2 separate regions of the Homo sapiens genome follow, and region 1 is linked to region 2. Evidence: promoter capture Hi-C in 16 types of primary human blood cells and fetal thymus (Javierre and others, 2016). All regions are on one chromosome and are shown on one strand. Each heading gives the region's core, a stretch centred on a gene start or on the middle of the fragment in contact. The rest is flanking DNA. Distances are from core to core; before and after follow the strand shown. Region 1 overlaps LOC101929710 (a long non-coding RNA gene). Region 2 holds the start of ELL2 (elongation factor for RNA polymerase II 2).

Evidence for each region. The method cuts DNA at HindIII sites, captures the fragments that hold promoters and counts their contacts. A CHiCAGO score of 5 or more calls a contact.
Region 1: a fragment that was not itself captured here is called in contact with the fragment with the promoter of ELL2 in region 2 in 4 of 17 cell types (endothelial precursors, M1 macrophages, M2 macrophages and 1 more); the score reaches 7.7 in endothelial precursors.

Annotation. Positions count from the first base shown.
Region 1 is chr5:96,216,824-96,220,674 of GRCh38, forward strand. The region is part of intron 1 of LOC101929710 (a long non-coding RNA gene); the gene reads left to right. It also overlaps a transcript of CAST not described here. Among named protein-coding and RNA genes, the nearest start is that of MIR583, 140 kb to the left of the region's middle. The HindIII fragment of the contact is 4,538 bases long and covers 1-3,851 here.
Region 2 is chr5:95,960,584-95,964,303 of GRCh38, forward strand. ELL2 (elongation factor for RNA polymerase II 2) reads right to left here and starts at 1,268. Exons shown (of 12, transcript NM_012081.6): 1 at 992-1,268. The coding sequence starts at 1,138. It overlaps LOC101929710 (a long non-coding RNA gene), which reads left to right and starts at 1,418. Exons shown (of 5, transcript NR_130776.1): 1 at 1,418-1,453. It also overlaps a transcript of CAST not described here. RefSeq lists silencers at 682-1,091, 1,162-1,401, 1,357-1,824 and an enhancer at 1,120-1,877. The HindIII fragment of the contact is 3,633 bases long and covers 1-2,514 here.

The DNA of each region.
Region 1 (3,851 bases), core at 410-2,909, 260 kb after region 2:
AATAACAACAGTTTTCCCGTCATTCCTTTAAATAAAATTGCTTTTCATGACAAAAGTGACTAGTTTAACTTAACAACTCAACTGATTCTCCTCATGAGCTCTTTTTATCCATTGTGCTTTCTGTTGCAGAAGTATTTTATAAGCACTTTACATCACACAGAAAATATTAAAAAGATGTGTACTCAAGAGTTGAGAAGTAATAAAATTATTATTTTTTTATTTTTAGTTTTTTAGAGACAAGGTCTCACTCAGTTGCCCAAGGTGGAGTGCAGTGGTGCAATCATAGCTCCTTGTAGTCTCGAACTCCTGGACTCAAGTGATCTTCCTACCTCAGCCTCTGAAATAGCTGGGACTACAGGTATACACCACCATGCTAGCTAATTTTTTTTTTTTTTTTTATAGAGATGAGGTCTTGCTTTGTTGCCCAGGCTGGTCCTATACTTCTGGCTTCAAGTGATCCTTCTGCCTCAGCCTCCCAAAGTGCTCGGATCATAGGCATCAGCCACTGCGAGTGGCCAAATTAAATTTTTTTTTTTTAACCAAGAACATTATTAAGTTAAACTAGCTTTATGGAAAATAATTGTTTCTTTCTGTTGATTGGTAGTGCATGGTGTTGAAAAGTAAGACAGTGATGACTATAACCATTTGGTGCCGCTCCCTTGATTTGTGGTAAGGTACCAGCCATTTTTCCCACTATTGCTTTTGTGCTATCAGTGCAATGAAAAAGGCAAATTATGTGTTCCTGTACTTATGAAAATAGTTTACTTCTGGATCACACTTGTGAACCACACTTTGAGAACAGCTACTGGACAAAAATGTGAATGGATGATCTATTACTATGCACAACAATATGGATGAGTGTCAGAAATATAATGCTGAATGACGGAAGCCAGACCCAAAATAATACAGGCTCCAGGATCTTTTATATCTAAAGTACAGAAACAGGAAAAACTTAACTTTGGTGTTGGTAATTAGGAGAAGGGTTATCCTTAGGGATGCTGAGTGGAATGAGGCATGAGGCATGGTTTGCTGTGAATGTTCTTTCCTGAGCTAGACATTGGTTACGAGGGTCTGTTCAACTGTGAAATTCATTAGCTGTACGCTTATAATATGTACACTTTCTGTGTGTATGCTATATTTCAATGAAAAGTTCAGAAAATAATACTTACGTTCTTGTGTTTTGTCTCCTACCTCAGTTAATTGAAAGTTCTGGGGGGTGGCCTCTGAGTAGTAATAATCAAGAAAAAGTGACTGTTTGCTTTTTTCGATGCTAGCAATATTAGCTGTTTAAAAGGTTTTGCATGGGTTCAAATTACAGTCTATCGTTTTTAGGATGCTATGTGACTCACACTAGGTGAACACTGACCATGTTTTCCTATGGAATTTTTTTAAATGCAGTATATGTGGTTGGATGCAAGCTGTCTATGGGTTTCTGACCTTCAATGCAATTTTATATTTTCAGTTGATTGTTGTATCTGGAAGGAGATCATAATGAAGCAGAGGCCCTATATTATGCCTGTGGTCCAGCAGAAGGGGCTGGCTGACATGGAAATAATGTATTACATTTATTCATGCTATGGCATAATGAACTAAAAATATTCTGCTGGAGAGGTAGAATTAGAACCAAAAAACATTTTAGGCATTTGGCCTTTGCTAAAATAATATTTCTCTCCCAGTCTTCTCTTCCACCTTCCCTACACATTTAAGTTTTCTTCCTCTTCCAGCTTGGCTAAGGCCCTGCCTCACCCACAAAGCCTTTCCCAACTTCTGCTGCCTGTGGCTACCTCCCCTCTTCTGAACTCAGCACTCTTTTATATTGCCGACCCTCCAGTTTATTTGTTCATTAATTTAATTTATGTTGGTAAACTTATCTAACTCCTACATGTGCTAGGTTTAGGATCCAAAGACAAATATTTCAGACGAGCTGGATAGAAAGACAAGTGAAAAGCTCACTTCAATAAGGTCTGGCAAGTGTGACACTAGAGAGAGGCACAGCAGGCCGGGAGAACACACTGGGAGGCACCAAGTGGGTCAACATCAGGGGAAGTTTAGAGTCAGGCAGCCCTCAACTTGAGCCTTTGCTTTGTTATGTACTGTGTGGGGTGTTTGGCAAGTTACTTAAGGTCACTAAATCTCAGTTTCTTCAGGTGAAAAGTGGAGATATTAGGTGTTCCTATCTTAGGGGCATTGTGAGGAATAAATGAAGCTGTGTGCAGAACAGCTACGTAGTATATGCCTGGCACAGGATAAGTGCTCAGTTAATGTGAGGTATTATCACTATTATTTTTTATGTGTATGATTTCATGGCCCATGTGGTGAATTGTTTGAGCTATGTCATGACAGATATATAATGTCAATTTAACCAAAAATTTTCATTTGTATTTCTTGAACTCATAGAGGTTCAGGCTTAGCACATAATCACACTCCTCAAGAACATCTCTTATTTTTCTTCCCCATCTACTTCTATTATGCATTCAGGAGCTGGCCTTCCTAAGACGCTTCATTCAAAACTATTTTTTGGTTCTCATCCATTTTGCCCCTGTCTCATAGCCCCAAAGTGGCTGTCACAAACCTATGAGACAGGCATTATACCCATTTTATAGATAAAGGAAGTGAGCCTCAGAGAGCTACTAAATAACTGATCCAAGATTATACAGCTAATAAGTGGCATTGCCTAGTCCATGTCAAAGTTGCCAGCCTGGCCAGGCATGGTGGCCCATGCCTGTAATCCCAGCACTTCGGGAGGTTGAGGCAGAAGGATTGCTTGAGCCTAGGAGGTCAAGGCTTCAGTGAGCCATGTTTGTGCCACTGCACTCTGGCCTGGGCAACAAAGTGCGGCCTTGTCTCAAATAAAAAGAAGGAAGGAAGGGAAGGAAGGAAAGGAGGGAGGGAGGAAGGAGAAAGCAAGAAAGGGAAGGAAGGAAGGCAGGCAGGCAGGAAGGAAGGAAGGAAGAAAGGAAGGAAGGAAGGAGAGAAAGAAAAGAAAAAAGAAAAGGAAAAGAAAGAGAAAGGTAGGTGGTTGGCATGTTTAATATCTCTTAAATTCCTTCTCATTGTCTCCACAGAAGACCCCACTCTGTCTCCTGCTAAAGGTCTGTCAGAGCCTGTACAAAGGTTTTAAGGTCACTTTCTTTTGGAGCAGGATGTCTGAAGCTGATGCTGTATGTTGCCCAATGAACAGCCATTCCTTTCCCCTTTCTTCCTTGTTGTTAAAGCCTGTCTCCCACGACAGAGACTGAAAATGCTAAATACTAGTTTTCCCTGCCTCTTTGTTGCTATGGTGTGGGTCTGTGACTCAGTCCTGGCTAATGGGACGTGAGGAGAAGTTTGCTCAGAGGCATCTGAAAAGGGTTTGTCTCCTTAGTACAAAGATATAAGAGGAGTCTCTACTCTCTTCCTACCCTTCCTGTTTTGAACATTGCTTTGTGAAGACATGATGCTTCGGGCTGTGGCAGCCATCTGGTGTCTATAATGTTTTGTGCCCCCTCTTCATGCATTTTAATCTCAGATGGTAAAAGACACCCTCAAGTACACTAGGACTTACCTATAATTAATTGAGCTATTCAGAACATGTTATGTAAATGTTAACATGACCATGGTAAAGAATAGAATATTTTAATGGAAATGTTTGTGAGGAGGAATAAACCTTTGAAATTATCTAGATTATCAACTCTTCATTTCACAGAAAAAAGAAACTGATACCCAAAGCATTTAAACATCTTTCCTAAAATTATACTTGGTTAGTGACAGAGTCTGGCATAGAAGCTAGGCCTTCTGACTCTGTTTCAAACATTATTTCTGTAAGACATTTTTTGATGAATAAGACATCACTCAGTTGGAGCTGTGCTACT
Region 2 (3,720 bases), core at 18-2,517:
TGCCCGGGATGCATTGTATCCTCCCCACACCTTCTGGCTCTGGCTCGTTCCCCGTTTACACTTCCCAGAGTCAGCCCAAGACGCCGGGAGCTTTTTCGGGTACGTTGAGCGTCCGTGAACCTCTCTCTCCAGAACCCGATGTCTTGCTCCCGGGGAGCGCTAAGTGTGCGTGAGTCCTCAGGTCTCTCCCCAGGGCACTGTGTTGGTTTGTGTCCGTCCTGGACGCGGCGCGTCTCCAGTAACGCGATGCGCCGGTGTCCCGGAGTCCCTGGGAATGCAGGTGTGTCCCCTCCCCCCCCGTACGCGAAGCGCCAGTGTCCCCGCCGTTCCAGTGTGCGCCGCCCCCTTACACGGACTGCCTAAGTCCCTATCTCTATGAGTACACCGTGTGCCCCTCACCATGCGCCCGAGTCCCCATCCCTTCGAGCACACAGTGTGTCCCCTGATACGTGGAGCGCCTGTGTCCCCAAGTCCCTGGGAATACAAGGTCCCACCCCCACACGCGGAGCGCCTGTGTCCTGTCTCTGAGGATCCACCGTGCCTATGTAACTGGAAAACGCGGGCAGCTGGTGCCCGCGAGTCGTCCCTGGTTCCTTGCCCATACGCTGCTCGCTACCCTCCTTCCCCGCCGAGGGTAGCGTGGTCATCTCACTTCTCTTATCGGGGCCTCTCTCCCTCCTTGGGACCCAACAAGCCAGGAAATCCTCGGGGGCCGTCGGAAAGTCCCGCAGCGGCAGCGCAGCCGACCCAGGGCTGCGGCTGCCTCGGCCCCGCCGCCAGGGGCCGCCCGACTGCCCGCTTCCCCAACGCCCAGGCTAGCCCGGGACCGCGGCGTCAGCCACCCTGCCCGGCCCTGCCCTGCCTGGCCGCTGCGGGCGCTGACGGTAGCAGCTGCCAGCCACGGCTCCGCCGGCCCCGCACCCGGGCGCGGCCAGGCCGTGAGGGGTGCGCTCTGCCTCTCTGAGCCCAGCCTGCCGGCCGGCCCGCTCACCTTGTGGCTCTGGTAAGTCTCGAGCGCCCGGATCGCCGTCTCGGTGAGCTTCACATGCAGTACGGTGATGTTGTCCTGCCCCAGCCGTCCGCACGACAGCCCATAGCGCTGCTCCTCCCGCAGGCCCCCTGTCCCCCCCGCCGCCATCTTAAACTCCCCGGGGTGCCGCCGCCGCCGCCGCTCCGGCTCTAGCCTCCACTGCGGCCGCGGCTGCTTGGGCTTCTGCAGCCGCCGCCACTGCTAGGGCCATCCCGCTGCTGACGTACTGTCATATACTGCGCGGAGCCAGACCTCGGACTGCCACCGCCGCCACCCGCCCCACCCTCCGGCCCCGCGCCCCGCCCCGGGCTCGTCTCATTGGTCTTGTTCCCTTCAGAACCGCCCTCATCGGCCGCCCTCCACTCTCACGGGGGCGGGCCCAAAGTCACTAGAGTTTTGCTCCTGGGACGGGACGTCCGAGAGGTAAGAGGCTGACGTCTAGGTGACGCGCCAACTTAATCATGTCTGACGTCACGTCTGGTCGTCTTGGCTAGCCGGCCGAGATTGGCCAGGCTGGCTTGGGGACTCCCCTGCTAATTGGAAGTCCAGGTTGCCTGGTCTGGTTACCTGGAGTTGGAGCCCCGCCCCTGTGGGGGATAGTAGTGAAAAGTCAGAATTGGGGAATCTCGCCCTACGCGGGTGGTCCTTGGAGAGGAGGATCTCCACCTCCACTATGTAAGGGGATGGCCGTGACCAAATAAGGACTTTGTTCCCCGACGGCTGCGGAAGCTGTGGAACTTGGTGCGTGCGTGTGGGGGAGGACGCAGCAGGAGGACTCGCTAGAGAGCTGCTCCTCAAAACTCCTAGTACTGTAGTTGAGCAAACGGCATTGGGAGGAAACTGCTCACTCTAAACTTGAAGTTATCGGGTGCCACACGCAGAGCTTATAAAAACAAAAACAAAAACAAAAACCCTTGAAATTAGTGAGTCGACTCTTAGATGTAGGAGTTGTGTTAGATCTTGTGGAGCATCTTAAGGACAAAATCACGCGGGAGGTTAAATGCCTTTCGTATGGTGGGCATGGTATAATAGAGAATTGAGCTTCGAGGTCTTTCCTACGCCATGCCCTGTTGTGATTCTCTGGGATCACAACTGGTGGGGATGATATCTCCTTAAAAAGGACTCTAGAAGAAGAGTAAAACTGGCATTGATCTAAATTAAAAGAAACCTCGACAATTCTCATTCTCTAATTCAGTTTGAGTATTGTCCTTTTTATTTGATAGGGCTGTGTGAAAACCTAGCTAGGGTTTAAAGGTAAGAGGCTGTCGAGGTTAAGCGAAGGAGATGGGGGCGTGAGGGGCGTGCAAAGGCCTGGCATACTTTCCATTCCATCCACAGGATGCTTCCTGTGTAGGCGTGGCTAAAAGAGGGAGCCTAATCTGGAGTCCCTTTCAGATTGTGTGTGGATAGACTGACAGATGGGTTCCTGTCAGAGGATGGATTAATTGGTTGATCAGAAACACCAGATAAAACAAACCATTGAAAGCTTTCAAACTGTTGAAAGGCAGTTTAAAAAAGTTCTTTTAATAAAAAAACTGAGACGCTTGTTTTTACCCTCAGCTTATAAAACCATGTTCTGTTCTACTGGGATTCCCCGGGAAAGTTTATAGATATTTAATCAGTATTTTTCATTATTTTAAATGGATTAGGGCCATGATTCCATGTCCTCCCCTCCCAATAAATGCCTTCCCCACCGTACGGGTACACTCCTTTTTGATTCAGACCTTCAAACATAGTAGGTGTATAATGTGAATTACAGAATGAATTGGATTAAGTGGAAACACCTGTATTAAGTGTTACTCCATCACAGGAAAACAGTTTGTAAATTGACTTAATTTCAATCCACTAAGATTGGCTAGCTGTTAAGACGTGATTAACGCTTGCTAATTTCATTTACTTTAGTGATACAGTGTTATCTTAAATTCATGTAGTAGAGATATTAAGGTAATCATCAAATTGGATTAAAAAGTTTACTCTTAGAAGGGAAATAGAGGCTTTACTACCTAGTTTTCTCCGCTTTCCAAAAGTAGAAACCTTATTCAAATAGTTCATCTCTAAGCGGACTATAATCTAAAAATAATTCTGTACTTGAACTTTTCTTTTCTCTCTCTCTTTTTTTTTTTTTTTTTTTGATAGTAAAGGACTGAGCACATAGCTAAAGCCTTAATTATTTGGGAGGTGAGGGGGAAGGGAGGTTTGACCGGAACAAGTAAAACCTGTATCCCACTGCTTTTCCGGTGAATGTGGGTAAATCCCCACCCACATGATATCCTAACTTGGCCTACTCTTACTCAGAATTTCTGATGACATCCAAGCGGGTGGGGGAGGAGTAAGGATGGTTTTCGTTGTAGTTTTCAAATATCTGACCTGTAGCTTCTTACTAGTAATTGACTTTTTTTAAAAATTATAATAGGAAAATTTTTCTCATGCCCTATTTTAGTGGGTAACAAATCTTTCACGGATTAATATATTATTGTAGTGAGTTAATGGTTGTTTGTATTTTTCCCCTTTTGAGCTTTTCAACTGTGGAAGGAGGAAATGATCAAGTACAAAGTAATATGGTAATCTAGCAGTGTCTTTTCATTGATGTCTCACAGGCATAGTACACATTACGCCTGCCTGAATCAGATGGTCAAGTTATGATGCTGGTTAGGATAATTTATTTTGAGGAGGCTGATGAAAGGTGCTTT